Regions from separate parts of the Homo sapiens genome. Here all the other regions are linked to region 1. Evidence: promoter capture Hi-C in 16 types of primary human blood cells and fetal thymus (Javierre and others, 2016). All regions are on one chromosome and are shown on one strand. The core of a region is centred on a gene start or on the middle of the fragment in contact, and the rest is flanking DNA. Distances in the headings are between cores, read along the strand shown. Region 1 holds the start of RNASEH2B (ribonuclease H2 subunit B). Region 2 overlaps SPRYD7 (SPRY domain containing 7). Region 3 has its middle 9.2 kb from the start of SPRYD7. Region 4 has its middle 26 kb from the start of SPRYD7. Region 5 overlaps DLEU2 (deleted in lymphocytic leukemia 2). Region 6 overlaps TRIM13 (tripartite motif containing 13). Region 7 overlaps DLEU2 (deleted in lymphocytic leukemia 2).

Region 1 (4,379 bases), core at 1,324-3,823:
CGGCCTCCCAAAGTGCTGGGATTACAGGCGTGATCCACCGTGCCCGGCCTCATCTGTTGTTTCTTGACTTTTTAATAACCACCATTTTGACTGCCATGAGATGGTATATCATTGTGGTTTTGATTTCCATTTCTCTAATGATCAGTGATGTTGAACTTTTTTCATATGTTTGTTGGCCACATGTATGTAAAGACACCCATTTCTTTATGTGCTTGACATGGCCTTAAATATGCATGTATCCTTGTAAATTACATCGTGTTGTTCTTTGTGCCTTTTAAATTTACCTACATGGTATTCTGCTAAAAATAATTTCCTGCATCTAAATTTTTTTCTTTAGATACAAAGCATCTGTTTGTATATGTACACCAATCACTGTGTCAAACTGCTGTATACATAGCCCATATACAATACACATGGTAGCATTATTTATAATAACAGTTTGAAATAACCTAAATACTGCACACTAGGGAATGGATAACTAACCCTAGTACACCAGCTGTGTTAAATATCATGCCTTCATTAACAATGATACTTCTCGATATGAAGGGGCACATGCTTATGACAATGTTAAGTGAGAAAAGCAGACAAAACAGTCTAAATTGTGACAACAACCACAAAAATATACATTAATACAGCCAAGGGCTAGAAAGGATCAGAGAAAAATGAAACAGGTATGTATGTCTGAGCAAGGGAATCATGGGTAACATTTCTCATGTACAGTAGCTCCCCCTATTCGAAGTTTCGCTTTCCAAGGTGTCAGTTACCCCCAGTCGAACTTGGTCCAAAAATATTACACGAAAAATTCCAGAAACAATTCGTAAGTTTTAAATTGTACAGTGTTCTGAGTGGTGTGAAGAAATCTTGCACCATCCAGCTTCGTCCTGCAAAGGACCTGAATTCTACCTTTGTCCAGCGGATCCACACTGCAGAAGGTCCCCTCCTTATGAGTCACTTAGTAGCTGCAAGAGTAGTGATGCTGGCATACTGTGAGAATTGTTCTATTTTATTATTATTGTTGTTCATCTCTTACTGGGCCTAATTTTCAAATTAAACTTTATCACAGATATACATGCAAAGGAAAAAACAGTATATTAGGGTTTGGTACTATTTGCGGTTTTAGGCCTTCACTGGGGGTTTTGGATCCCATCCTACAGGAATAATGGGGTGCTCCTGTAGCTGTTAGTAAGACGATGGTGTGCCTGGGGATTTGTGCTATACACCACAGCATCTTCTACAGTCGTTTTGGGGGAGAGGGAAGATCAGAGCAGTACCAATCTGCTGCTCCTTGCCCCAAAACTGGCAAGAGGCGCCTTTCCTCAGCCAGAAAGGCCTCTTCTCCACCAGCTGTGTCCTGCAATCAACTGCAGCTGTATTGGTCTCACCCCATGGGAAACAGGTTTGAAGTTAAAAACCTTTTCAGAGGGCCGAGATAAATTTAGTGCTGCTAAATTTAACTATCTTCAAGATTAAACATGAAAAGCAAAGTGCATGAGTTATGTATATTATTCTTTCAATTGTGCAAAAATAAGACATTAACTTGTTTTTGCATGGAAAAATTCTGCAAGAATAGAGAAGAAATGTTAACAGTTACCCCTGGGATCTGGGATAAAAGAGATACATCATGCTTTTCTTTAAAAAAAAAAAAAATAGGTTTTTGTGGATTTTTTTGTTTTTGTTTTTTTTGACAGAGTCCAGCTCTGTAGCCCAGGCCAGAGTGCAGTGGTGGGATCTCGGTTCACTGCAACCTCCATCTCCTGGGTTCAAGTGATTCTTGTGCCTCAGCCTCCGTAGTAGCTGGGATTACAGATGTGCACCACCACACCCAGCTAATTTTTGTATTTTCAGTAGAGACGGAGTTTCACCTTGTTGGTCAGGCTGGTCTCCAGCTCCTGACCTCAGGCGATCCGCCCGCCTCGGCCTCCCAAAGTGCTGGGATTACAGGCCTGAGCCACTGCGCCTGGCCCGTGCTTTTCTCTAAAGTATGAAAGGAATATGTACTTTCTTCTTAAAAACCATGTACCAAACAACACTTTTCAATTAAAATGTTATTTTTAAAAGTTTAAATCCCCAAATTTCATGGCTCTAACTTTTTAAACATCACTTTTTAAATAAATGTCTAAGTTTTTAACTCAGTATACAGCGTTCTCCAAAACAACAAATTCATATTCTGAGCCCAAAACTGTGCACCTCTTTTAGTGATGAGGACGGAGTCCAAATTGAGGACATCCCTTGTAGCTCACAATGCACACATATTCTCACATCAATAGCAACACAGAATGCAACTGATGACCAATATATATTCACAAATAATTGAGGACCATGGCTAAGAGTTGCATTCGGATTCCGATGTGACTGCTATTGTCCTTAACACGGACTAGCTCCAGGTGAGTCCCCCGGCCCCGGGGGTGTGGCGGGCGTCACCCGTTGTCCGGGCACACACCCCGCAGACCCAATCCTAGCCCGCTGGCTAGACCATGGAGGGCCGCTGGGTGCAGCCACAGAGCGCGGGGCCCCGGCGACCCCGCCCCGCTCCGCGTCACTCGGCGCCCTGCGGCGCGCGATGAGCACCTACCACTAGCGGAGCCGCGAGGGAGAGGCCGCGGCCCCTTCCCGTTGCCTGCGGCCACCGGCCGGCATTCAGAGCCCCTCGCCTGGCGCTAAATTTAAAAACGTAACACGAGCAGCAGGCTGGTCTCGGAAACGAAACGAAATTCGGTCCCTGGGCCTCCTCCCGGGCGCTGCCGGTCCCTCAGCGCGCCGCGCCACCCGGAACAGACCCTTCTCCCGCCATTTTCGGCGGGGCTGGGAGACTGAGGCCCGCGGCGCTGAGCCTGCGGCGCCCCGGAAGAGGCGGGCGGCATGGCCGCTGGCGTGGACTGCGGGGACGGGGTTGGCGCCCGGCAGCACGTGTTCCTGGTTTCAGGTAAACACGCGCGCCCGGGCGGCGGGGTCGGCCCAAGAACTGGCGGAGCGGCCCGCGACCCCGGGCGCGCCGCCCCCCACCCCGGTGGCTCCCACTACCCGGCCCGGCGCGGGATGGGATTCTCTCTGGGACAGCTGGCCCCGCATTTTGGTCACACGTCATAGCAAGCCGCGGTTTTCAAACCCGGAAGCGCCGAAAAGGACCGAGCGTGTTTCCCGGGCCCTGATCCCCGGTGGCTCGGGTGGGAGGGTGGAAGCCGACTCAGCCTGAGGGGAGCCACGCGGGTTCGCGGTCACCGGTGCGCTGCGGGCCCCGGAGGTTTCTGCCCTTGGTGTCCCCTACCTGGCAGCTGGCCCTGCTTCTGTGATCCTACTGGGTTGGAACCAGGGATCCAGTAGGCTCGAAGTGGCCTCAGACGGTGCGCAGTTTTAAGAAAGCAAAGGGACAGGCCTGCAGTGGCGAGGCAGGAGGGAAGCGGGATGGGAGTCGCGGTTAGGCCAAGGGTAGTTCAAAGCGATTCAGCAGGATGATGACCACAGGAGTGCTGGAGCCGGGCCTTTCAGCCCCCGTGTGGATGATGACCGGCCATCCAGGACATGCGAGGGCTTGGGACAGTGGACAGCCAGTGCCACACAAGGAAGGACCGATTAAATGACACAGTTAAAGGAATTTGGCCTAGGGAGTGCAAGCCAGAAAGGTTTGGTCTTTTTATATATGTAACATTGGAAAAAAGGAACATCTCCTGTTCCCTGTATTAAGTTTTGACTTTAGCTCAGCAAATGCAGTGTTTGTGGCAGTAAATATACTCTGATAACAATATTCTTTCCCAGGAATTTAGAGTTTTATGATGGTTATTGAAAATGTTTACATGACAGGCTGTCAATAATATTTTTTGCCTCTAAAAATAAAACATACATAAAGTGTACGGATTTTAAGTATGCAACTCACTGAACTTTTCATACGTATACACCACCCTAGTAACCATCCCCCAGTTCAAGATGTAGACTGTTTCCAATAACGCCTCATGCCTGTTCCTAGATAGCCCCAGGAACCTCTATGCTGACCTCTGTCACCAGAGATTAGTTTTGCCTGTTTGAATAAGAGTGTACCCTTTGTGTCTGGCTTCTTTCACTCTGAAAGATTCATCCTTGTTGTGAAATTCATTCATGTTGTAGCAGTTGTTTGGTTGGTTGGTTAGTTTTTTCATTGCTGCTTCTGTTTAATTGTATGAGTATCCATACTATGTATCTCTACTGTGGATGGACATTTGGGTTGTTTCCAGTTTGCAACTATTACAAGTTACACTTCTCAGAGCATTCCTTTAGGCGGCTTTTGGTAGACATGGGCACTCATATCTCTAGGGTGTATACCCTGGAGTGGAATGGCTGGTTCTAGTACTTGTGTGTAGAGCTGTAGTTGACAATGTTAAATGGTTTTCCAAAGTGGTTATACTGAT
Region 2 (4,379 bases), core at 669-3,168, 990 kb before region 1:
TTAGCCAGGATGGTCTCAATCTCCTGACCTCGTGATCCGCCTGCCTCAGCCTCCCAAAGTGCTGGGATTACAGGCGTGAGCTACTGCGCCCAGCCAGGAAGTCGTAACTTTGTAACCACACTTCTTCAGTGTTATGCAGTCTTTTTCTTTCTACAGGCTGAGTGTAAGAAGAGACAAAATGAATGATTGGATTGATCAAGGATTAGGGATGGAAGACAAAAGAGTAAAGGGATTTAAGTTTTATGTTTATCTTTGATAGGATCAGGCTATTAAAACACTTGGTTTAATTGGACTGATTTATGAGTTCAATTTATGAAATATAATTTAGTATCTATAACCTTAGTACATTACAAATAATGCTGAATAAAAGAAACAGTTTAGAGCATTAAACTTATTTGCTACAGTTAACTTGTATAACTGTCACTCTACTGATATTTATTTTATTTCTCAGGCTAACCTATTTCAAATATCAAGCTAAATTTCCATTTACTCAAGTAAATAAAGGAATTGCTTTTAGGCTTACCCAATATGCAACACTAAATTGAGTTTTAAAACACACATTTACATGCAAGGACACAGAAGGTAAAATGACTGAAAAGTAATTTTAGGAGAAAAGAAGGCTAATGAAAACCTTAAACTAAAAGGTAATCACAAGCTTTGGCTATTATCATATTATTATTTATATTTGTTATTGTATAATTCTGACATCCCAGTTTGTCATCATTGATACTGCTATTTTTATTTTAGTATTTTAATTTTATTTTGCTTTTGAGACAGGGTCTTACTCTGGTGCCAAGGCTGGAGTGCAGCGGCACGATGATCACTGCTCACAGGAGACTTGACCTCCCCGGCTCAAGAGATCCTCTCAGCTCAGCCTCTCAAGTAGCTGGGACTACAGGCACGTACAACCACACCTGGATAATTTTAAAATTTTTTGTCGAGACGTGTTCTCACTATGTTGCTCAAGGCTGGTCTTCAACTCCTGGACTCGAGCAACTCTTACCTCAGCCTCCCAAAGTGCTGGGATTACAGGCATGAGTCATTGCACCAGTGCTGCTTTTATAGTAAACTACAACAAATGTAATTAAATTAGTTCTTTTTTTTTTTTTTCTTTTTTTTGAGATGGAGTCTTGCTCTGTCACCCAGGCTGGAGCACAGTGGTGTGATCTCGGCTCACTGCAACCTCTGCCTCCTGGGTTCAAGTGATTCTCCGCCTCACCCTCCTGAGTAGTTGCGATTACAGGTGTGTGCCACCACACACGGTTTCACCATGTTGGCCAGGCTAGTCTTGAACTCCAGACCTCAAGTGACCCACCTGTCTTGGCCTCCCAAACTGCTGGGATTACAGGCATGAGCCACCGTGCCTGGCCTAATTAGTTATTTTTCTTTCTTTTTTAATTTTATTTTATTTTATTTTTTTTTGTGGAGACTAAGTCTTGCTCTGTCGCCCAGGCTGGAGTGCAATGGCATGATCTCGGCTCACTGCAACCTCCATCTCCTGGGTTCAAGTGATTTTCCTGTCTCAGCCTCCCATGTAACTGGGATTACAGGAGTGCGCTACCACGTCTGGCTAATTTTTTGTATTTTTAGTAGAGATGGGGTTTCACCATGTTGGCCAGGCTGGTCTCAAACTCCTGACATCAAGTGATCCACCGGCTTCGGCCTCCCAAAGTGTTGGGATTATAGGTGTGAGCCACCACGCCAGTCCTAATTAGTTCTTATTATAACCCAAATTTAAGAACTTAAATGAGAAAATATTTTTAGACTTACAAAACCAAAGGCAGAAAAATCATATACCTGTTTACTTAAAGTTGATAATACAAAATAGGCTGGACACGGTGGCTCATGCCTATAATCTCAGCACTTTGGGAGGCCGAGGTGGGCAGATCACTTGAGCTCAGGAGTTCGAGATCAGCCTGGCCAACATGGTGAAACCCCATCTCTAGTAAAAATATAAAAGTTGGCCAGGTGCTCACACCTATAATCCCAGCACTTTGGAAGGCCGAGGCGGGCAGAACAGAAGGTCAAGAGATCAAGACCATCCTGGCCAACATGGTGAAACCCCATCTCTACTAAAAATACAAAAATTAGCTGGGTGTGGTGGTGCGTGCTTGTAGTCCCATCTACTCGGGAGGCTGAGGCAGGAGAATCGCTTGAACCTGGGAGGCGGAGGTTTCAGTGAGCCAAGATCGTGCCACTGCACTCCAGTCTGGCGATGGAATGAGACTCTGTCTCAAAAAAAACAAAACAATACAAAAAAACCCCAAAAGTTAGCTGGGTGTGGTGATACACACCTGTAATCCCAGCTACTCTGGAGGCTGAGGCACGAGAATATCTTGAACCCAGGAGGCGGAGGCAGCAGTGAGCCAAGATCACAACACTGCACTCCAGTCTGGGTGACAGAGTGAGACTCTGTCTCAAAAAAAAAAAAAAAAAAAAGTTGATAGTATAAAAAATAAAGCAGAATGGATTGATAAAGACATTGTGGTTATGTTTTTCTAAAAAAAAAAAAAGAAAGAGACCTTTTTTTCGAGATACAAATAAAACATTTATGAATAAAATTATATATTACCTGGCATTTGCCTCAAAATAACCCAAGGAGGGTAAGTGAAGAACAATAGCAGCATTGGGGGTGGGGGGGTGTAGATGAAACCCGATTGGTTACAAGTTGATAATTGTTTGAAGCTGGCTGATGGGTATATGAGGGTTTATTATACTATTCTTTTTACTTCTGTACATGTTTGGAATTTTCTATAATAAAAATTAAGGTAGGCCGGATGCAGTGGTTCATGCCTGTAATCCCAATAGTGGTGCACACTTGTAGTCCCAGCTACTGGGGTGGCTGAGGTGGGAGGATTGCTTGAACCCAGGAGTTTGAGGCTGCAGTGAGCTGTGATCGGGCCACTGCACTCCAGCCTGGGGGACACAGCAAGACTCTGTCGCAAAACAAAACAAAACAAAACAAAACAAAACAAAAAAACAAAAAATTAAAGTTAAAATTAAAATTCTAAGTCACTATTTCCCTCAGAAGAGCATTAACATTTAAGGAATTTTGTAAGGGTTATTAATGTACAGTCTACATAAAATTCCCATCTCTAATTCCAAAATATTATTTATAATTATGTTTCCTGGCCATGCAATCATTCCCAATGACTTGCAGAAAAAGTTTTCTAAATTCAGTAAAGCTTTTTGAAACTTTCTAAAACATAAAACTACATGTTGAAAAAGGGAGTACGGTTATTGCATATTTAAGTGTAATCATTGTATTTAGCAAGTTTATTTTAATACATGGGGAACAGAAACTATCCTTAATCCTGCAAAGTGGGATTGTAATATCCTACCGACTACAATCCATATAAAAAGGTCCTTATGGCTGGGCACGGTGACTTATACCTGTAATCCCAGCACTTTGGGAGGTTGAGGTGGGTGGATCATCTGAGGTCAGGAGTTTAAGACCAGCCTGGCCAACATGGTGAAACCCCATCTCTACTAAAAATACAAAAAGTAGCCAGGCGTGGTGGCAGGCACCTGTAATCCCAGTTACTCGGGAGGCTGAGGCAGGAGAATCGCTTGAACCCAGGAGGCGGAGGCTGCAGTGAGCTGAGATCGTGTCACTGCACTCCAGCCTGGGTGACAGAGTGACACTCCGTTTCAAACAATAAATAAATAAATAAAATAAAAAGGTCCTTATTAACAATGTGTCCAGATTTCTAGATGATAGCTATAAAAGTAACATACACGCTGATATGGTTTGGCTGTGTCCCCACCCAAATCTCGTCTTGAATTATAGTTCCCATTATCCCCATGTGTTGTGGAGGGACCCAGTGGGAGGTAATTGAATCATGGGGGTGGTTACACTCATGCTGTTCTTGTAAAAGTGAGTGAGTTTTCACAAGATCTGATGGTTTCATAAGGGGCTTTCCCCAACTTCGCTCAATCTTCTCCTTCCTATTGCCATGTGAAGAAGGATGTGTTTGCTTCCCCTTCCGCCATGATTGTAAGTTTCCTGAGGCCTCCCCAGCTCTGTGGAACTGTGAGTCAATTAAACCTCTTTCCTTTATAAATTACCAAGTCTTGGGTATGTCTTTATAGCAGCATGAAAACAGACTGATACACACACCAAACAAGTTAATATGTATGTAATAATACATTAGAAATATTTTTGCTTACCATAAACAACTGGATACACTGTCCCTCGTATACCTGATGCTGGACAATGCATGTTTTTTCCATTCAAGTATACATTTAATTCGACATGGTCATAAGTAATACCCTAGGAAGGAAAAAACAGAAACGTTCCATAAAAGCTGAGCCGTCAGAAAGCATTGACTGGGAAGTATGGAAACACAAAAAGCTAAGCATAGGCTGACAACAATTTT
Region 3 (4,379 bases), core at 1,056-3,555, 960 kb before region 1:
GCCTTGGAAAGGAAGAGAGAAGTTAGGAAGATACTTTAATCTTTCCAATTTCTTAGGAAAAAAAGGAAAATTCCATTTTATATGTTCTTAATTCAATGATGTCTGCTATGTAGTGAGCACTCTGTAAATATTTATAAAAACAACAAATGAACGAAGCCCCCCAAATAAGTAAATATGTTTTTTTGTTTTGTTTTGTTTTTTGAGACGGAGTCTTGCTCTGTTGCCAGGCTAGAGTGCAGTGGCCCAATATCGGCTTGCTGCAACCTCCGCCTCCCAGGTTCAAGTGATTCTCCCATCTCAGCCTCTTGAGTAGCTGAGACTACAGGTGCATGCCACCACGACCAGCTAATTTTTGTATTTTTAGTAGAGACGGGGTTTCACCATGTTGGCCAGGATGGTCTCGATCTCTTGACCTCGTGATCCACCCGCCTTGGCCTCCCAAAGTGCTGGGATCACAGGCGTGAGCCAACACACCCGGTCAAGTAAATACATTCTAATTACACCTCATTTCATCCACAACCCAGAAAGTAGTATGTAAACTGAATTCTTAGAAAAACATTTCCACGTTAAATGCACTAGGGCAGGTTGCCGTATAAAGGAATTCTATAAACAATTTTTTTTTTAAGAGATAGGGTCTCACTTTGTCACCCAGGCTGGAGTGCAGTGGTACAGTCATAACTCACTGCAACTTTGAACTCCTGGACTCAAGCTGTCATCCTGCCTCAGCCTCCCAAGTAGCTGGGACTAAGGTGCCTGCCACCACGCCTGGCTAATTTTTTAAATTTTTTGTAGAGATGGGGGGGTCTCATTTTGTTGCCTAGGCTGGTCTTTAACTCCTGGCCTCAAGTGATCCTCCTGCCTCAGCCTCCCAAAGTGCTGGAATTACAGGCATGAGCCACCGTGCCCAGCCACAGATTTTTTAAAAATAACAGTTTTATTGAGATATAATTCACATATCATAGAATTCAACCTTTTAAAGTATATGTTTAATGGTTATAGAATGAACCATTGGTTTATAGAATATCACTGAGTTGTACAATTGCCATCGCCCCAAAAATAAACTTAATATTACTAGCAGCTACTTTCCATTCCTCCCTACTCCAGCCCCTGAAAACCACTAAGTTACTTTCTGACTCTGTGGGTTTACCTATTCTGAACATTTCATATAATTGGAATTGTACAGTATTTGGTCTTTTTCATTATCTAACTTCTTTCACTTAATATGACGTTTTCAGGGTTCATCCATGTTATAGTATCTATTCCTTCCTAATACTTTATTCCTTTTTATGGTTAAATAATATTCTACCATATGGATATACCATATTTTGTTTATCCATATATTTATTGATGGACATTTGGGTTGTTGCTATTTGGCAATTATGAGTAATGCTGCAAGGTTTTTGAGTGAACATATGTTTTAAATTCTCTTCATTGTATATCTAGAAGCAAAATTGCTGGATCGAATAATGACTCTATTGTTTGAAGAACTGACAAACTTTTTCAAAGTGGCTGCGCCATTTTACAATCCCACTAGCAATGTACAAGAGTTCTAATTTCTCTACATTCTTGTCAGCACTTGTTATCGTCTGTCTTTTTTATTTTAGCCATCCTGGTAGGTATGAAGTGTTATTTCATTGTCTTTTTGATTTGCATTTCCCTATTGACACACAGTGCTGAGCATGTTTTCCTGTGCTTAGTGGCGATTTGTATATCTTTTTTGGAGCAATACCTATTCAGATCCTTTGTCCATTTTTAAATTGGGATATTTTTGTTTTTGTTGTTCTTGAGTTGTAAGAGTCTTGATATATTCTAGATATAAGCCACTTATCAGATAAATGATTTGCAAATATTTTCTCCCATTCCATGAGGTGTTTTTTTACTTTCTTGCCTTTGAAGCACAAACATTAATTTTGACAGAGATTTATTTATCTGTTTTTTTTTTGTCACCTGTGCTTTTGGTACTTGTGATGGTTAGTTTTATGTGCCAACTTGACTGGGTTAAGGGATGCCCCATAGCTGGTAAACATTATTTCTGGGTATTTCTGTGAGAGTGTTTAAATGAAAGATCAGCATTTAAATCAGTTGACTGAGCCAGGCATGGTGGCTCACACCTGTAATCTCAGCACTTTGGGAGGCTGAGGCAGGTGGATCACTTGAGGCCAGGAGTTCAAGACCAGCCTGGCCAACATGGCGAGACCCTGTCTCTATTAAAAATACCAAAAAAAAAAAAAATAGCTGGATGTGGTGGTGGATGCCTGTAATCCCAGCACTTTGGGAGGCTGAGGCAGGTGGATCACTTGAGGCCAGGAGTTCAAGACCAGCCTGGCCAACATGGCGAGACCCTGTCTCTACTAAAAATACAAAAAAATTTGCTGGACATGGTGGTGCATGCCTGTAATCCCAGCTACTCGGGAGGCTGAGGCAGGAGAATTACTTGAACCTGGGAGGTGGAGTTTGCAGTGAGGTGAGATCACTCCACTGCCCTCCAGCCTGGGTGACATAGTGAGACTCTGTCAAAAAAAAAAAAAATCAGTAAACTGAGAAAGTTGATGTGCCCTCACCCATATGAGTAGGCATTATTCAATACATTGAGGGCTCAAATAGAACAAAAAGGTGAGAGAAGAGCAAATTCCTTTTCCCCCTTCTGGTATGCCATCATCTTCCCTCAGCCATCAGTGCTCCTGACTTGGGCCTTTGACCTTGGAGACTTACACCAGCATGCTCCCCCTCCTCAGGGCTCAGGCCTTAGGGCTTGGATTAGAAGCCACACCAGTGACTCCCCTGGTTCTCGGGTTTTCAGACTGGAACTGAATTACACCACCAGCTTTCCTAGGTCTCCAGATTGCACACAGCATATTGTGGGACTTCTCAGTCTTCATAATTGAGTGAGCCAATTCCCATAGTAAATCTCCTCTTATATGTCTGTATGTATTTTATTGGTTTTTTTCTTTGGAGAACCCTGACTAATCAGTGTTATATCTAAGAAACCATTATTTAATCCAAGATTAGAAAGATTTACTCCTCTGTTTTCTTCTAGGAGTTACATGCTTTTAGTTCTTACAGTTAAGTCTTTGGTACATTTTGAGTTAATTTTTGCATATGGTGTGAAGGAGTTCAACTTCATTCTTTTGCACATAGATATCCAATCATCTCTGCACCAGTTGTTGAAAGGACTATTCTTTCCCCTGTTCGATTGTTTTGCCACCCTTGTTGAAAATTATACAAGACTTTTTATAACTTGAATTAACAAAGATTTTGACTACAAAGAATAATCATTCTTAGTTTAATCTTTGTAAATAGGGATAGTCAGAAATCATACCAAGATTTTGAAAATACCTGTATGGATGATTTATGGTTGGAAATACCACTGTGAGTTTTTCTATTGACTATTCATTTTATAGTTACTTTTGTAAAAGCCAGTAGTAAAGCCAGCCAGGTGCGGTGGCTCACGCCTGTAATCCTAGCACTTTGGGAGGCCGAGGCAGGTAGATCACGAGGTCAGGAGATCGAGACCATCCTGGCCAATATAGTGAAACCCCATCTCTACTAAATATACAAAAAATTAGCCGGGTGTGGTGGCACACGCCTGTAGTCCCAGCTACTTGGGAGACTGAGGCAGGAGAATGGTGTGAACCCAGGAGGCAGAGGTTGCAGTGAGCCGAGATGGTGCCACTGCACTCCAGCCTGGGTGACAGAGCGAGACTCCGTCTCAAAAAAAAAAAGAAAAAAATTGTTTTATGACCTCAAGATCTTTGGTTTTTTTTTTTTTTTAGTATTTTATTTGTTTTAAGGATTCCTACAGAGTTAGCTAACATGGTCCATGTTCATTTCAAATGTATAAATCACCCACTTCAGTATTTTAAGTTTATAAAAATCTTTAAATGTGTAAATCAAAAATAAAATTCTAAGACCCCTTCTTCCCCCAGCTGTCTGAATGGACTCCCTCTTCTCAGCCAGAGCACTCCAAAGTTAGCCTGAAAAACTGGTTCAGGCCATGATGGGAAGAGGGGGATCAGACATGCATCATTATGCCCTTCTCCTTTTTGGAATTCAGGAAAAGCTGACCAGCATTAACATCGACACAGACCTTAAGTCTGATAAGAAACATTTACAATCTATTCTGAAACCTGCTACCTGGAGGCTTCATCTGCATGATAAAACTTTGGTCTCCACAACCTCTTATGTAACCCAGACAGTTCTTTCTATTCATAGTAACTCTTGCAACCAATTGCCAATCAGAAAATTTTTTTCTACATGATCTACATGTAACTGGACCCCCCACCCTTGGAGTTGTCCTGCCTTTCTGGACCGAACCAGTGTATATCTTAAATGTATTTGATTGATGTCTCATGTCTCCCTAAAATATATAAAACCAAGCT
Region 4 (4,379 bases), core at 537-3,036, 950 kb before region 1:
TATAATGGCACAATCTCGGCTCACTGCAACCTCTGCCTCCAGGGTTCAAGCAATTCTGTATCAGCCTCCTGAGTAGCTGGGATTACAGGCGCCTGCCACCACACCTGGCTAATTTTTTGTAGTTTTTAGTAAAAATTGGGTTTCACCATGTGGGCTAGGCTGGTCTTGAACTTCTGACCTCAGGTGATCTGCCTGCCTCAGCCTCCCAAAGTGCTGGGATTACAGGCATGAGCCGCTGCACCCCGCTGACACAATAATTCTTAATGTGTATTCACCTAACAGCAGGGCATCCAAATATGTAAGGGAAAAACTGATAAAACTGCAAGAAGACCTGGGTGAATCTACTATTATAGTTGGAGACTTTAACACTCCTCTAACAGAAATGGACACAGTCAGCAGGCAGAAAACCAGTAAGGACACAGTTGAATTCAACAACACTATCAATCAACTGTATATAATTGACATCTACAGAATATTTCATCCAGCAGCAGGCAGCAGATTACAATTCTTCTCAAAATCACATGGAGCATTCACCAAGACAGATCACATTCTGGGCCATAAAACACACCTCAACAAATATAAAAGAAGTCATATAGTGTCTGCTTTCAGACCTCATGAAATTAAACTAGAAATTGATATCAGAAAGATAGCTGAAAATCACAAATACCTGGAGATTAAACAACATACTTCTATTTTTTTTTTTTTTTTTGAGACAGAGTCTCACCCTGTCACCCAGGCTGGAGTGCAGTGGTGCGATCTTGGCTCACTGCAAGCTCCACCTCCTGGGTTCACGTCATTCTCCTGCCTCAGCCTCCTGAGTATCTGGGACTACAGGCGCCCGCCACCATGCCTGGCTAATTTTTTTGTATTTTTTAGTAGAGACGGGGTTTCACCGTGTTAGCCAGGATGGTCTCGATCTCCTGACCTCGTGATCCACCTGTCTCAGCCTCCCAGATTAAACAACATACGTCTAAGTAATATATGAGTGAAAGAAAAAGTCTGATGAAGAGAGTTAAAAATATTTGAAATAAATGAAAATATAACTTATCAAAATGTCTAAGATACAGCAAAAGCAGTGCTTAGAAATTTATAGTATTGAATACATATATTAGAAAAGAAGATTTAAAATCATTAATCCAGCTTTCAGCTTTTAGCTCAGAGAAGGCCAAGGTGCAACTTTCTTCAGTTGTCATGAATCTGAGTTCATACAACACCAGCCATCTCCACCATGCCATCGAAGAAAAAAGTAAAATAAAATAATTAATCCAATATTCTGCCTTAGGAAACTAGAAAAAGAAGAGCAAATTAAATCCAAATAAGCAGAATAAAATAAATGAAAATTATAGCAGAAATCAATGAAACTGGAAGCAGAAAACCAATAGAGAAAAATAACACGACCAAAATCTAGTTTAAAAAAAATCAATATAGTTGATAAACCTCTAGCCAGGCTTACTAAGAAAAAGAGAAGACACAATTACTAATATCAGAAGTGAAAGAGAAGCATCACTACAGATCCCATGGACACTAAAAGAATAATAAAGGAATATTATTAATAACTCTATGTCCACACATTTGATAACCTACTTAAAGACACAATCTGCCAAAATTAACACAAAAAGAAATCAATACTTTTAATAAACCTATATTGATTAAAAAAATTGGATTAATAACTAATAAACTTCCAAAACAGAAATCACCAGACTCACATGGATTCATTAGTGAATTCTATCAAACATTTAAGGAAGAAATTATACCAATCCTATACAATCTGTTCCAGAAGACAGAAGCAGAGGGGATACTTCCTAAATCATTCTATGAGGCTGGCATTACCCTAATATTCAAATTAGACAAAGACATTACAAGAGCCGGGTGCAGTGGCTCACACCTGTAATCCCACACTTTGGGAGGCTATGGTGGGAGGATCACTTGAGTTCAGGAGTTCAAGACCAGCTTGGGCAACATAGCAAGACCTCATCTCTACTTTAAAAAAAAAAAAAAAGTAGCTGGTATGGTGGCACACACCTGTAGTCCCAGCTACTCGGAAAGCTGAAGTGGGAGGATCACTTGAGCCCAGGAGATCAACCCTGCAGGGAGCTATGATCATGCCACTGCACTCTAGTTTAGGCAGCAGAGTGAGTCCTTGTCTCAGAAAAAAAAAAATACAAGAAAAGAAAACAATAGAGTAATATCTCTCATGAACATAGATTCAAAAATCCTGAACAAAATACTAGCAAGTTGAATCCAACAATGTAAAGAAAGAATTACACATCATGGTCAAGTGGAATTTATCCAAGGTAGGCAAGGCTAGTTCAACATTTGAAAATCAATTAATGTAATCCATCACAACAACAGGCTAAAGAAGAAAAATCACATGGTCATATAAATAGATGCAGAAAAAGCATTTGACAAAAAAAAAACATTTCATGATTGGAAAAACTCACAATAAATTGAGAATAGAGATGAACTTGCTCAACTTGATGAAGAACATCTGCCAAAAAACCTACAGCTAACATTATACTTCATGGTGAGAAACTTGAAGATTTTCTCACACTATCAGGGACATTGCAAATATGTCCCTTCTCACCACTGCTTTTCAACATCATACTGGAAGTCCTAGCTAATGCAAGAACACAAGAAAAAGAAATAAAAGGCATATAGATTGGGAAGGAAGAAGTAAAATTATCTTTGTTTGCAGATGACATGATTGTAGAAATCCAAAAGAATCAACAAACAACCCTCCTTGAACTAATAAGCAATTATAGAGGGTTGTAGGATACAAAGTTAATGTACAAAAGCCAATTGCCTTCTGATACACTGTAAGCAATGAACAAGCAGAATTTGAAATTAAAAACACAATACCATTTATATCCTTCTGAAAAGAAATAGGTATAAATCTTAACAAAATATGTGGAAGATCTATATAAGAAAAACTACAAAACTCTGATGAAAAATATCAAAGAAGACTTAAATAAATGGAGATATAGTCCATGTTCATGGATAGGAAGACCCAGTGTTGTTGAGATGTCAGTTCTGAACTGGATCTATAGATTCAATGCAATCCCAATCAAAATCCAGTCAAGTTACTTTGTGGATGTTGATAAACTAATTCTAAAGTTTATGTGAAGAGGCAAAGACACAGAATAGCTAACTCAACAATAAAGGAGAAGAGTTAGAGGACTGATAGTACCCAACTTACTAGACTTACTAGAGGTCCCGCATGGTGGCTCACACCTATAATCCCGACTACTCTAAAGTCTGAGGTGGGAGGATCACTTGAGCCCAGGAGTTGATGTTGATAAACTGATTCTAAAGTTTATGTGAAGAGGCAAAGACATAGAATAGCCAACTCAACAATAAAGGAGGAGAACAGTTAGAGGACTGATAGTACCCAACTTACTAGAGTTACTAGAGGTCAGGCATGGTGGCTCACACCTATAATCCTGACTACTCAAAAGGCTGAGGTAGGAGGATCATTTGAGCCCAGGAGTTCAAGATCAGCCTGAGCAACATAGAAAGACCTGGTTTCTAACAAGTTAAAAAAAAAAAAAAAAAAAAAAAAAGACTTATAGAAAGCTGCAGTAATCAAGACAGTGTGATATTCGTGAAATAGATCAATGAAACAGAACAGAGAGCCCAGAAAAAAACCCACATAAACAGAGCCAACTAACCTTCAACAAGGGAGAAAAGGCAATACAATGGAGCAAAGATAGTCTTTTCAACAAATGGTTCTGGAACAACTGGACATCCATGTGCAAAAAATAAACTTAAACATGGACTTTAAACCCTTCCCAAAAATTAACTCAAAATGAATCACAGACCTAAATGTAAAATGCAAACTATAAAACTCCTATAAAATAACAGAGAAAAACTTAGATGACTTTGCTGATACAGTTTGGATGTGTATCCACTCCAGATTTCATGTTGAAATGTGATCCCCAATGTTGGAGGTGGGACCTGGTGGGAGGTATTTGGGTCATGGGGGTGGATCCCTCATGAATGGCTTGGTGCCCTCCTTGAGATAATACATGAGTTCTCACTCTATTAGTTCATGCAAAAGCTAGTTTTAAAAGAGCCCGGCACCTCCTCCCCTCTCTCTTGCTCCCTCTCTCACCATGTGATACACTAGCTCCCCTTTTGCCTTCTGCCATGATTGTAAACTTCCTGAGGTTTCACCAGAAGCAGATGCTGGCACTACACTTCTTGTATAGCCTATGGAACTGTGAGCCAAATAAACCTGTTTTCTTTATAAATTATTCAGCCTTACATATTCCTTCAGGGCAACACAAAACAGACTAACATATATGGGTATGGTGATAATTTTTTTTTTTTTTGAGATGGAGTCTCGCTCTGTTGCCCAGGCTGGAGTGCAGTGGTGCAAT
Region 5 (4,379 bases), core at 1,182-3,681, 930 kb before region 1:
TATTAACAAGTTCTGTCAGCTATAACTCCAAAATATATTTTTAAAATATGACCTTTTTTCCTACCCTAGCTCAAGTCCTCATTATCTTTCTTGCTTAGATGTCGCATTAGCCTCCAAACTGTCCCCCGGGGCCACTCTTACCCTTAGTACCATCTTCCTTCCACACAATGGGCAGGGTGGGTTTTTTTAGTTGTTGTTGTTTGTTTGTTTTTTGAGACAGGGTCTAAGTCTATTGCCCAGGCTGCAGTGCAGTGGTGTGGTCATAGCTCATTGCAGCTTCAATCTCCTGGGCTCAAGTGGTCCTCTCACTTTAGCCTTTCAAGCAGCTTAGGCTACAGGTGCATACCACCACACCTGGCTAATTTTTAATTTTTTGTAGAGATGCAGTCCCGCTATGTTTCCTAGGCTGGTTTTTTGTTTTGTTTTGTTTTGTTTTCTGAGATGGAGTCTTGCTCTTTTGCCCAGGCTGGAGTGCAGTGGTGTGATCTTGGCTCACTGCAACCTCTGCCTCCCGGGTTCAAGTGATTTTCCTGCTTCAGCCTCCTGAGTAGCTGGGACTACCAGCGCCCACCACTATGCCTGGCTAATTTTTGTATTTTTAGTAGAGTTGGGGTTTCACCATGTTGCCCAGGCTGGTCTCGAACTTCTGACCTCAGGTGATCTGCCCACCTTGGCCTCCCAAAGTGCTGGGATTACAGGTGTGAGCCACCGTGCATGGCTGCTAGGCTGGCCTTGAACTACTGGCCTATAGTGATCCTCCTGCCTCAGTCTCCCATAGCGTTGAAATTACAGGCATGAGCCACCACTCCTAGCCCAGAGTGATCTTTCTAAACTGTATATCAGATGATGTGCTCTCCAATGGCTTCTCTTCATATTTAAAATAAAACCCAAAGTCTTTTCCAGGACTTACAAGGCCGTACCTGATCTGGCTCCCCATTGCTGCATGCAAACTCTTCATTCATTCATTCAACTAATATTTACTGAGGGCCTGCCATGTGCCAGACACTCTTATAGCTGCTAGCATATTGCTTCTGTACAGAGCTCACATTCTAGTGGGAGGAGACAGTAATCAAAGAAATACAAAGTATGTCAGGTGGCGATAAGTGGCATGGAGAAAAATGAAGCAGGAAAGGAGACCAGGGAGTGCTGTGAGGCAGTGAGAGGCCACCATTTGTAATAGGATGGCCAGGAAGACTTTCCCGTGAAGGTGACATCTGAGCAGAACAACTGAAGGAGAGGAAGGAGTGAGCCAGGTAGACTTTGGAGGAAGAACATTCTAGGCAGAGGGAAAAAAAAATGCCAAGTTGCTAAGGAAGAGGCGAGTTTGGCATGTTTGAGGAATAGCAAGGAGGCCGATGTGGCTAGAGTAGAGCGCACAGGCAGAAGTCAGAGATGGCTTGGCCATGGGTTGGGGAGATGGCAGACCTGTAGGAATCTGTTGGCTCCCAACCAAGGGACTTGGACTTGGACTAAGTGGGTGGGAAGCTGGGGAAGGGATGTAAGCAGAGCAGTGATATGATTGTGTAGAAGGACCATGTGGCTGTAGGGAGACAGGCTCAGCATCAAAGACAGAAACAATAAATCATGGTGGCATGGGCTAGAATGGTGGCCATGGAGGAAGAGAGAAGTGCTCAAATGTTGCTGAATGAATAGTGAATAAATGAACTTGCTCAATGATGGAGTCAAAATGCACATGCAGCAATCTGACTTGAGCTGCCTTGCTCTTAGTAAGGGTGAACAAAAACTAGGAGAGAGGGGCTGCTGCAGCCCCCTTGGAACTTTCCGGCTCTGAGATTTTAGCAGCTTTCCTTCTGTGGGGTATGCAGGGAAGAAGGAAAATACGCCTATAATGGAAGCTTTATTGGAAAAGGCAGAAGGTAGAAAAACATCTGGAAGGACAAAAAGCCCACCAGGCAACCAACCAGTCAACCAGTAACAATGTACAGGCTTGAGATTGGGGTATTGATCAATTGCCACTTAGGCCACACATAATCACTACCACACACAATCACTATGTGTGATTTTTTTTTTCCCTCAAGAGAATGTATTAAAAGGAATGCTTCGGAATTAAAAATAAAAATTTTAAAAATTACCCCTTTTAAAAATAAACTGAATAATTTGTAAAACTATGGAGAGTATGGTGATGAACACAAAGGCTATGACTTTAAGTCACCTTTTCTGGGAAAGCAACTGGTTTAGAAGATTAAACTATGCAAACAAAAGGCAAAGATTCTGGGCCGGGTACGGTGGCTCACGCCTGTAATCCCAGTACATTGGGAGGCCAAGGTAGGCAGATCGAGACCATCCTGGCCAACATGGTGAAACCCCGTCTCTACTAAAAATACAAAAATTAGCTGGGCGTGGTGGCACGTGCCTGTTATCCCAGCTACTCAGGAGGCTGAGGCAGGAGAATCACTTGTACCTGGGAGTCAGAGGTTGCAGTGAGCTGAGATTGTGCCACTGCACTCCAGCCTGGCCACAGAGCCGGACTCCATCTCAGAAAAAATAATAATAATAAAAAATTTAAAAAAGATTCTGGGCCGGGCGCGGTGGCTCACGCCTGTAATTCCAGCACTTTGGGAGGCTGAGGCGGGCAGATCACGAGGTCAGGAGATTGAGACCATCCTAGCTAACACGGTGAAACCCCGTCTCTACTAAAAATACAAAAAATTAGCCGGGCGTGGTGGCAGGCACCTGTAGTCCCAGCTACCCGGAAGGCTGAGGCAGGAGAATGGCGTGAACCCAGGAGGCGGAGCTTGCAGTGAGCCGAGATCATGCCACCGCACTCCAGCCTAGGTGACAGAGCGAGACTCCATCTCAAAAAAAAAAAAGATTCTGAACCATCCATTCTCTGGGTTGCACTTAAATTTTTGGCTTCATTAGGGATGACTTGGAGCTGCTATGCTTGTCATGCAAAATATATTCCTCCATGTTATTTTCCATTTGCTAATCAGTTGGATCCATTTGAGTCAAACTGTGCCTTTGTAGACTTGGTTGCTTCTTTTGGAAGCTTCTTTCAAAGTTTCTTTCTTTAGTTGCTTCTTTCAAACTAGGTTACAGAAACAAGAGCTGAATTAGACAGCTGCAGAAAGCAGATTTCTACTTTCAAATTTAAGATGAAAAATATGAATATTGAGAGTATTTCTTTCATGTTGAAATCAAGCAACTTTCTTGGTAAAATTCTATTTCTTAACGCAGTCAGTAATTGGTGGGTGAGGTGACCACATGCCCTGAGGAGGCAGGTAGGCCCATCTAGAGCAGGAGCTGGGCTCATGCAGATGGATCTTTGACCCTACCTCTGTTCCTCATAGTTGGATGACCCTGGCCAACTCACTTCACCCTGTTACTTTCCTTATCTGCAAAATTCATGTCTCCAAAATTCCCTTGTGGGGTTGCTGTGAGGATGAGTTGAAATGATGTGTGTGGTGTCACAGCATGATTTCCTTGATCCATGGAAGTTATTAAGTTGTTGGCAGTCCACTTCTTGCTTTTGTGGAGTTGTATTTTTGTTCTAGCTCTTTTGTTCACAGACGGGGTGACTATGTAATTTATCATCCAAACTGGGAATTAATAAATGAAAATGAAAGACTAAGTGGAGGAGAGTCTGGGCTCAAAGGTGTGGTCAGGACTCTTCCCAGGCAAACCTGAACATGTATGGTCACCTTCCCTAATACTAATGCGTAGTCAGACTGAGCAGCCTGTGGGAGAAAGCTGGCTGCCATCATTCTGCCACTCACTGCTGGAGGGACAACAAGGCAGAAGCAGTCTGGCGGGCCAAGCTAGACCTTGTCTGTGTCGGGAAGACTTACATCATGTGCTGGTAAAGAACTAACAACTGCTGGGCACAGTGGCTCATGCCTATAATCCCAGCACTTTGGGAGGCCAAGGTGGGAGGATTGCTTGAGGCCAGAAGTTTGAGACCAGCCTGGACCACCTAGTGAGACCTTGTCTCTACAAAAAAAAAAAAAAAAAAGTTAAAAAAAAATTAGCTGGTCCTGGTGACATGCACCTGTAGTCCCAGCTACTCAGGAGGCTGAGGAAGGTGGATCACTTGAGCCCAGGAGTTAGAAGCTGCAGTGAGCTATGACTGCACCACTGCACTCCAGCCTGGGCAACTGAGCAAGACACTGTCTCAAAAAATAAAAAGACTAACAACCTGGTCTTTGAAAAATATTGAGTGGCCAGGCACGGTGGCCCATGCCTATAATCCCAATGCTTTGGGAAGCCAAGGCGAGTGAATCACTTGAGGTCAGGAGTTCAAGACCAGCCTGGTCAACATGGTGAAACCCCATCTCTACTAAAAATACAAAAAATTAGGGTGTGGTGGTGGGTGCCTATAATCCTGGCTACTCGGGAGGCTGAGGCAGGAGAATCGCTTG
Region 6 (4,379 bases), core at 888-3,387, 910 kb before region 1:
CATTTATTTTCTAACAGAAAGCCTGAAAAGTCAAGCTGCAAGCAAAAATATGCAGGCTAGAAGCTTTTATATGTAAATGTAGCCTGCTGTATCTGGAAGCCAGGTACATTCAATATGGGGTTTCTCACTCCCTTTTCCTTGTCACCCTATGTGGGCGTCTGGGCCGCTCCCTTTTCCTTGTCACCCTATGTGGGCGTCTTGGCGATCACTAGGTAAAACCACGGGTGCAGGTGTCATGGCGGCCCCAGGTAGAAGCTACATTTGCATAACAAAAAATTAGGGTGGGAGGGCCAGTCTTTAGACGGGCTATGTAAATGATTCACCTGGTCAAACCAGTCCCCTGGGCCCTATGTAAATCACCACCTCCTCAAGCCTCTGTACAAAATCGATTGCGTTTCACCCCAAACCCGGAGACCCTCTCTTGGGTGATATTTCTCAGCGTGAGGAACCTTTCCCTATTAAATTTTCCGCTCCTAAACCCACTCCTTGTGTGTGTCCATGTCCTGAATTCTTTCTTGGCTCGAGACAACCACGGGTGTATCCCCCAGGCAATGGAGCCATTTCATTATGAGGTAAATACTATAAAAATCATTTTTAAATTTTTTTCCAAGAGATGGGATTCTCAACTGTGTTCCCCAGGCTGGTCTTGAACTGGGCTCAAGTGATCCTCCTGCTTCAGCCTTCAGAGTAGCTGGGACTACAAGTGTGTGGCACCATTCCCAGATATAAAAATCCTAATTTTATGAAGGATAAAACTGGTGCTTGAACACAGGTACTCAAAAGCAGGTTCTGTGCTTTCCCCTTCACTAGAGAGCCTGTTAAACCTAGTTTGTAAAAACTGCAAAATTTTAGAAGGGATTTTAGAGAGCTTATGATTAAACCCCTTCATTTTATGAATAAGAATACTGAGTTCTTGAGTCCCTTTCTAGATATTGCTAAGGTCTAAGAATTAGAAAACTCAGGCTGTGATGCCTAGTTTGCTGTGTACAACTGATGAGTCTCCACTTCTTGAGTGCTGGGGGTGTCTTAGTTTTTTTGACTCCTAAAATTAGGTGTTTAGATGATTTCTAAGATGCTTTTAAGCCCAGTATTTCTATTCCTACCCCATAACTTTTATTACCATTTATTGCCTATACATATATATTGGTAAGACACAGATGCAGACTAATGTTAACTGCCTTAAACTTTTATATTTTAAACTCGGGTAGGTATGGTAACAAGTGTGTCTTATTGTTTTTTACTAAGTCCTATAAAACTATGGTTTTATTTAAGGTTAGGAACTGCATAGAGAGGTGGACCACTCTAATACATCATTGGTTAGAGTTCATAAAGTGATATAAACCCTTTCTAGAGAGAAACCTAGTCATCTTTTCAACAGCCTTAAAAATGTCCTTACTGTTTGACCCAGAAGTACATTTAAAGGAATTGTCTAAGGAAGTAATTAGAGCTGTGGAGCAAGACTTTTCTCTATAAGGTGTTTACCTAAATGTTACAATACCAAAAAAACACAACAACCCACAAACAAAACAACACAGCAACAAGAACAAACCCATAAATGAGCAATAAGAAAGCATATCCACAACATGGACTGTCATGTTTTTCTAGAACATATCATGATGGGGGAAAGGCATGTAATAAAATAAGGGGATAGGATACAAAATTGTATTATGCTACCAGTTCTGTTAAAATGTGTGCACATGCACGGACACATGGGATTGGAATAAAGACACCAAAATAATAGTAGTGGTGATTTCTTGCTGATGTGATTATGGGTGGCTTTTTCTCTCTATTTTCTGAATTTTCTATAATAAAAACTAATTTTATAATTTAAGAAGACACAAAAGCTAGTTGCATGGATAACTTCGGTTTCAGTATGGTGTCAATATTTTATGGTTTTAATTGTGGTAAGAACATTTAACATGAGACCTATCCTCTACACAGATTTCTAAGTGTACAGTACAGTGGTGTTAACTATAGACATGAGCAGATCTCTGAAACTTACTTTTATGTGTCTTTTATAAACTATTTATCATACCTTCTAGAATAACAGCACCTGGCCGGGTGCAGTGGCTCAGGCCTGTAATCGCAGCACTTTGGGAGGCTGAGGTGGGCGGATCACCTGAGGTCAGGAGCTCGAGACCAGCCTGGCCAAAATGGTAAAACCCTGTCTCTACTAAAAATACAAAAAATTAGCTGGGCATGGTGGCAAGTGCCTGTAATACCAGCTACTTGGGAGGCTAAGGCAGGAGAATCACTTGAACCCAGGAGGCGGAGGTTCCAGTGAGCCAAGATCACACCATTGCACTCCAGCCTGGGTGACAAGAGCAAAACTCTGTCCCAAAAAAAAAAAAAAAAAAGGCAGGAAAGAGTCCAGGCTAAACTATGGTATGGAGAAGAGAATGAAGGAAAAGGAAAAAGTTTTTCTTAGTGCTCTGAACTAGCGAGGTAATGAGTGACCTGGTTTATATTTCTGAGAATTTCACCTTAGTCTGACAACCCTTTGTGAACTTTCTGAGTAAGTGAACTTACCAAGCTAGTGAACATTCTGTACTAGCTCTATTTTGCCTTGTCAGGATCTCTGCTAGAAATATCTTGGAAATTTTAACTACTGTTTATTCTAGGATAATGCCAGAAAAGGTTGGTTACTTACTGTCTTATATGGACACATAGGTAACTTTTATATTGTTTGCAAGAGCCACATAACAATTATTTTAGATACTATATGTAATATATTAATTTTCATTTTTAGAGGTATTGAAATCTGATATTTCTTACTTTGTCCTGTTTTGATCATATATATGCCAGAGGTGCTATGTGTAATACATTAATTTTCATTTTTAGAGATTATATCTGAAATCTGATCTCTGTATCTTACTTTGTCCTGTTTTGATCATATAAGTCACCGGGACAGTCTCTAAAAGAATGAAGAGTAATAACACATTGATACAGAGTATTTAAAATAAAAACTTTGTAAATACTTTTCATATACCTTTTAAAATAGCTATACAAATGAGGAGAGAAACTAGTATGTATAAGTGGTTTGTCAGAGGTTACAGACTGAGAGCCAGACAAGTATGTCAGTCTCCTCACAGGTCTGGATTCAGAGACTTCCAGTAATACATTAAAAAAAAAAATTTATGAAAGATGAAACCATAGGCTGGGCATGATGGCTTATGCTTGTAATCCCAGCACTTTGGGAGGCCAAGGCAGGAAGATACTTGTGGCCAGGAGTTTGAGTCCAGCCTGGCCAACATGGCGAAACCCCGTCTCTATTAAAAACATAAAAATGAGCCTGACGTGGTGGCAGGCACCTGTAATCTCAGCTACTTGGGAGGATGAGGCAGGAGAATTGCTTGAACCCAGGAAGAGGAGGCTGCAGTGAGACGAGATCGCACCATTGCACTCCAGCCTGGGTGACAGAGCAAGACTGTCTCAAAAAAACAAAAACAAAAACAAACCATACTACAGCAGATTAAACTTCTTATGAGGCTTATATTTAGCTAATGTTTTCAAAGTTTTACTTTCTAAACTCAATATGGTTTTTTAATAATTGGCTCTTTAGTTTTTCCACCCATTTTATTGTGAAAATGTTCAAACAGAGAAAACTCAAGAAGAATATTAAAGTATTCTTACATCCTCTACCTAGATTTTAATAGTTGTTAATTAGACCCTTACTTAGTTTCAAGAAAACATTTATTAATGGATCTCTCTTTTTTTTTTTTCTTTTTGAGATGGAGTCTCACTCTGTCATCTAGGCTGGAGTGCAGTGGTGCGATCTTGACTCACTGCAACCTCTGCCGCCTGGGTTCAAGTGATTTTCCTGCCTCAGCCTCCCGAGTAGCTGGGATTACAGGTGTCTGCCACTGCTCCCGGCTAATTTTTGTATTTTTAGTAGAGACAGGGTTTCACCATCTTGGCCAGGCTGATCTTGAACTCCTGACCTCATGATCCACCTGGCTCAGCCTTCCAAAGTGCTGGGATTACATGCATGAGCCAATGCACCTGGCCTAATGGATCTCATACTACAGTATAGTAAGGTGCAGTGGCTCATGCCTGTAGTCCCAGCTACTCTGGAGGCTGAGATGGGAGAATATAGTACACTATTTGAAAATAAGATTAACTAGTGTGCTGAGAGGAAATGATTTTTTTTAATGAGCCATTTTATTATAGGAATTATTTCAAAGTAACATTTGTGGCTGTCTCAGTTCAGTAAAGCTTAGCATAATTTAATGTCTATGAAGTGAGTTTCAATGTTTGCTGTCTAGCCACCTGATAGATACTTAGGTACTGTTTTGAAATTCTTGCCTTCAAAGATGCCTCAAAACAGGATGGAAATTTGAGTTAAATCCTTAAGATAAAAGCGTGATATATTTATTGGC
Region 7 (4,379 bases), core at 1,289-3,788, 870 kb before region 1:
GCCTCCCTGAAACTTGATTTGCCCAGTTTTGTCCTCTTGTGCAATAAAGAATAAACAAGTCTCAAGATTATTATTTTTTTTCTTTTTCAAGCAGGCTTCTCAGTACCTCTAGCCACTCCTCATGACATTCAAACACCTCATATGGTTTCCATTCTCTGAGTTCACTCTAGTTGGTTCACATTCATCTACATACTCTACATGTGGCCTGATATGAGCTACATACCAAGACTGCCAATTAACAATGGTCTGGGGGAACAAATGTTTATCAGCAAATAACAGTTTAGCCAAAATAAATAATTTGCATGCTAGCTTTGAAATTTGCTGAACCCTTACCTATAAACTCTTAATTAAATTCTCCAACTTGAGTATACAGACACCAAGACCATCTGGTATCATTGAAAATAAAGAAACATCAAAGGGATTTGGTTTCTTAATGAATAGAATATAGGGAGTATTTTAAAAGCATTACAATTTCTTCCTGAAGTTATACCTATGTAGAACTTTCTAGAAAGAACAAGTTACCCATTCTTAAAGCTCCAAATTCAGGCCAGGCATGGTGCCTCATGCCGTAATCTCAGCACCTTGGGAGACTGAGGCGGGAGGACTGCTTGAACCCAGAAGCAGACATGCCTGGGCGACAAAGTGAGACCATATCACTAACAAAAAATTCTAAAAATTAGCCGGGTGTGGGTGGTGCATGCCTGTAGTCCCAACTACTCAGGAGGCTGGGTGGGGAAAATCACTTGAGCCCAGGAGATCGAGGCTGTAGTGAGCCATGATTGTGCCACTGCACTCCCAATACAGCAAGACCCTGTCACAAAACAAAACAAAAAACCAAAACAAAACCCAAAACCGAAACAAACAAACAAACAAAAAGCTCCAAATTCCTCCGGTTTTGGAGGTTATCTAAACACATCTAAAAATCATTAATTCAAAAATGGCACAACAGCTTAACTACTATGGACCTGAGGCTTTGAGTCATTTTATTTTGAGACGGAGTTTCGCTTTTGCCCAGCACCCATTAAAATGCTGACAAAAGTGGTCATAACAGAGGGTTTGACTTCAAATCTGAACCATAGGCCTGTTTTGGCAGCAAACATCCTTCTTCCAAAATAGCCAGACTTTTAGACTTCCAAAATAATATAGTTTATTCTGTTAGCCCAGCTGTTTCTCTGGTTCTAAACTTTTTTTTTTTTTTTTTTTTTTTTTGAAACGGAGTCTCACTCTGTCGCGCAGGCTGGAGTGCAGTGGTGGGATCTCGATTCACTGCAACCTCCGCCCCCCGGGTTCAAGCGATTCTCCTGTCTCAGCCTCCCAAGTAGATGGGATTACACGCGCCTGCCACGTTTGTATTTTTAGTAGAGACGGGGTTTCACCACCTTGGCCAGGCTGGTCTTGAACTCCTGACCTCAGGTGATCCAAAATGCTGGGATTATGGGTGTGAGCCACTGCACCTGGCCTTAAACCTGTCTTTCTGAATGAAACTACTATTGCTCTTTTAAATTATAAAATTAGTGTGTGAGACAAATGGATTAAGACATATCATTTTTGCTTACATCATAAATGGGTCAAATTCTGACAAAAACATATTTATTATACTAGACAGGCCAAACATTTATTGAGCTTATTAGTGTCATGTTTACATTTTATAACCATGTTTAAAATGAAATATCCATAACTATTGGTTGTCATTAATAGTAAGAAATGTTTTTGAATATCCAATGTGAATTCCACAATTTTACAACAGCTCAGCTTTTTGATAAATGTAACTATTGAGGTACAAAAGAAGAAACAAACTCAAAATTTGATATACAGGTCTTAGATTTTTTTTTTTTTTTTTTCTGAGGCAGGGTCTTGCTCTCTCACCCAGGCTGGAGTGCAGTGGTGCCATCTTAGCCCACTGCAACCTCCACCTCCCAGGTTCAAGCAATTCTCCTGCCTCAGCCCCCCACCACGTAGCAGGGACTACAGGCGTGCACCACCATGCACGGCTAATTTTTGTATTTTTAGTAGAGATGGGGTCTCGCCATGTTGCCCAGGCTGGTCTTGAACTCTTGAACTCTGGTGATTCGCCAGCCTCAGCCTCCCAAAGTGCTGGGATTACAGGTGTGAGCCACCACGGCCAGATTTCTCTCTTTAAGCAAATTCTGACCAGTACACGTATTTCAGAAGTTATTTTTCTTACTCTCCTGCTCAGAATACTTCATGACCTCCCTTGCCTCAAATTGTTTTCACTATGAAAAGGTATCCTTGGGGATGACATGCGGATATGGTAGAGGAGGAATCCAGAGTAAACAAGATGCATCTTCCTGTATCCTCAATCTTGAGGAAAAATTCTAATCCTAGGCATTTTTACATTACAATACTATGGAATAGATATAAAGTTAGTGGTAATTTTTAGATAAAACTCAAATCTAAAGAAAATATTTCTGAGCCAGAAGCATAGCACTAAACCTCTTCTCTAGAGGAAATATAATCTTTCTAGTCCCTGGCACAGTAACGAATTGGATTGAGAAATAAATTCACTAATCCAAATATGCAACTAGAAGGGTGTATATATAAGGCTAATAACAACTGCTTTTGGATGATAAAAATGATTTTTAAATAATTTTTTTTTGCTCTTCCTGAGGTTTCTATGTCTATATAGTACTTTTATGCTACGAAAAATTAAACTTAACAGAAAAATGCTTAATTTTTGTATATGGAAGTTTCATTGCATTATCAAATCTTTATCACTATAAAATAAACCAGATTTGTATTTCTTTAGTTTGTTTACTAATATAGTTTCAAATTAAAAGAGATTTAAATATCCCTTTTCTTACACTTACCTTTTTTTGAGGTCTGGGGGGGCTTGAAGAGTGGGGAAATGACAGTGAAATCTCTCAACCACGAACTCAAGAAGTAATTCTTGAATTCCTTTTCAATATTACTTTGAGAACTTAAAGCACGCTGTTCCTCTGAAGCTGATTTTAAACTTATCTGATTTTGAAATTTTTCTTCCATGACAGTTAATTCATTATCATGTCTAAAGTTCCTCAACACAGTAGGATTCCCTTTTATAGGTTTCCAAAAGTAAATCATTATATGGATGTAAGGTTGCTTCAAATAATCACTTTTATTTTTCAAGGATTTCTCTCTCTCCTTTTCAAAAAACAAAGTTTGCCCATCACAGAAATCATACATGCTTATTTATAATCAAGAAGATTCCTCCCACCCCTATAAGATTTATCTCTCACCCAGAGTAAACCAGTAAAACAGTTTAGCATATGAATTATTCTGGTGAATCTATTCAACTATTTGATAATCTTTTACTTATTCAATAATGAACAGCTTTTTAGCTCATTAAATATTCACTTGCTATTTTAAGTAGCTGCACAGTATCCTACTGAACATGTTATTTCATCAGCCTTTTATTATTGAATGCTTTATAAACAATACCATAACAAACATATGGATTACTTCTTTAAAAAGTGTATCTGTTAATTGCTTTTACAATATTGGAAAACTGAGATAATTATTCTTTTAATGTTTATAAATCTTAAGGATATATTGTAACTGGTTCATACATAACTATTTGAAGAATTTAAAAAGTCAACTATATAACTTGTCAGCATAAAATTAATATCTGAACCTTGGGACCTGATGTTTAGGCTACTGTTTTGAAGTTTCTTAAATTTAACTTTTTTTTCATATTGCTAATACATTTAAAAGGTTAACCTATATGAATAAATGAGAAACAATGATAGAAACGTTATATACCTCAGGTGTGCGAAAGTAGAGAAAAAGGTTATGAGCTACAGGTATCATATGTTCATTCCATTGGAAGGATGGTTAATATTAGACTGTTAAGGTCAAGAAACAGTGCACATGAGAAATTCTGCCTTACTAAAAAAAATGTACAGGCATTAGTTGGGGGAGAACTGGAGTGATGAAATGGCATAAATAAAGGCAAAGAGAAAGAAAAATGGATTAGGACTAGTTCATTTGAAGAAAAATTAAACAACATAGAAAATGTTGGGACAAGACCACAAGACATCAAAGAAAGAAATTTAAATTGTATACTATAGGAAAAAAAAAGTTAGGAAGATTAAAAAAGTAGTGTATACTATATAGAAGATGAAATTGTTAGTTTAAAACAGCTAGAGGTGACCCGGGCACGGTGGCTCACGCCTGTAATCCCAGCAGTTTGGGAGCCGAGGTGGGTGGATCACGAGGTCAGGAGTTTGAGATCAGCCTGGCTAACACAGTGAAACACCGTCTCTACTAAAAATACAAAAATTAGCTGGGTGTGGTGGCAGATGCCTGTAATCCCAGCTATGCAGGAGACTGAGGCAGGAGAATCGCTTGAACCCGGGAGGCAGAGGTTGCGGTGAGCTGAG

What was found. The method cuts DNA at HindIII sites, captures the fragments that hold promoters and counts their contacts. A CHiCAGO score of 5 or more calls a contact.
Region 2: a fragment that was not itself captured here is called in contact with the fragment with the promoter of RNASEH2B in region 1 in 2 of 17 cell types (total B cells and erythroblasts); the score reaches 5.6 in total B cells.
Region 3: a contact is called between a fragment that was not itself captured here and the fragment with the promoter of RNASEH2B in region 1, in 1 of 17 cell types (total CD8 T cells). The highest score is 5.5, in total CD8 T cells.
Region 4: a fragment that was not itself captured here is called in contact with the fragment with the promoter of RNASEH2B in region 1 in 11 of 17 cell types (total B cells, naive B cells, naive CD4 T cells and 8 more); the score reaches 12.0 in total B cells.
Region 5: a fragment that was not itself captured here is called in contact with the fragment with the promoter of RNASEH2B in region 1 in 17 of 17 cell types (total CD4 T cells, naive CD4 T cells, naive CD8 T cells and 14 more); the score reaches 30.4 in total CD4 T cells.
Region 6: a contact is called between a fragment that was not itself captured here and the fragment with the promoter of RNASEH2B in region 1, in 15 of 17 cell types (naive CD8 T cells, naive CD4 T cells, total CD8 T cells and 12 more). The highest score is 22.4, in naive CD8 T cells.
Region 7: a fragment that was not itself captured here is called in contact with the fragment with the promoter of RNASEH2B in region 1 in 2 of 17 cell types (naive B cells and total B cells); the score reaches 8.1 in naive B cells.

What each region holds. Positions count from the first base shown.
Region 1 is chr13:50,907,218-50,911,596 of GRCh38, forward strand. It overlaps RNASEH2B (ribonuclease H2 subunit B), which reads left to right and starts at 2,574. Exons shown (of 11, transcript NM_024570.4): 1 at 2,574-2,923. The coding sequence starts at 2,860. It overlaps RNASEH2B-AS1 (RNASEH2B antisense RNA 1), which reads right to left and starts at 3,495. Exons shown (of 3, transcript NR_046552.1): 1 at 3,266-3,495. RefSeq lists silencers at 2,389-2,818, 2,829-3,068, 3,279-3,328. The HindIII fragment of the contact is 8,311 bases long and covers 1-4,379 here.
Region 2 is chr13:49,917,308-49,921,686 of GRCh38, forward strand. It overlaps SPRYD7 (SPRY domain containing 7), which reads right to left. Exons shown (of 5, transcript NM_020456.4): 4 at 4,171-4,273. Among named protein-coding and RNA genes, the nearest start is that of SPRYD7, 17 kb to the right of the region's middle. The HindIII fragment of the contact is 2,530 bases long and covers 654-3,183 here.
Region 3 is chr13:49,943,304-49,947,682 of GRCh38, forward strand. No RefSeq gene overlaps it. Among named protein-coding and RNA genes, the nearest start is that of SPRYD7, 9.2 kb to the left of the region's middle. The HindIII fragment of the contact is 7,532 bases long and covers 1-4,379 here.
Region 4 is chr13:49,960,573-49,964,951 of GRCh38, forward strand. No RefSeq gene overlaps it. Among named protein-coding and RNA genes, the nearest start is that of SPRYD7, 26 kb to the left of the region's middle. The HindIII fragment of the contact is 6,899 bases long and covers 1-4,379 here.
Region 5 is chr13:49,980,706-49,985,084 of GRCh38, forward strand. It overlaps DLEU2 (deleted in lymphocytic leukemia 2), which reads right to left. Exons shown (of 14, transcript NR_152566.1): 14 at 1,844-3,049. Among named protein-coding and RNA genes, the nearest start is that of MIR3613, 14 kb to the right of the region's middle. The HindIII fragment of the contact is 1,154 bases long and covers 1,855-3,008 here.
Region 6 is chr13:49,998,953-50,003,331 of GRCh38, forward strand. The region is part of intron 1 of TRIM13 (tripartite motif containing 13); the gene reads left to right. All of the region lies in intron 10 of DLEU2 (deleted in lymphocytic leukemia 2), which reads right to left. Among named protein-coding and RNA genes, the nearest start is that of TRIM13, 4.1 kb to the left of the region's middle. The HindIII fragment of the contact is 4,152 bases long and covers 62-4,213 here.
Region 7 is chr13:50,037,803-50,042,181 of GRCh38, forward strand. All of the region lies in intron 8 of DLEU2 (deleted in lymphocytic leukemia 2), which reads right to left. Among named protein-coding and RNA genes, the nearest start is that of MIR16-1, 9.1 kb to the right of the region's middle. The HindIII fragment of the contact is 6,162 bases long and covers 1-4,379 here.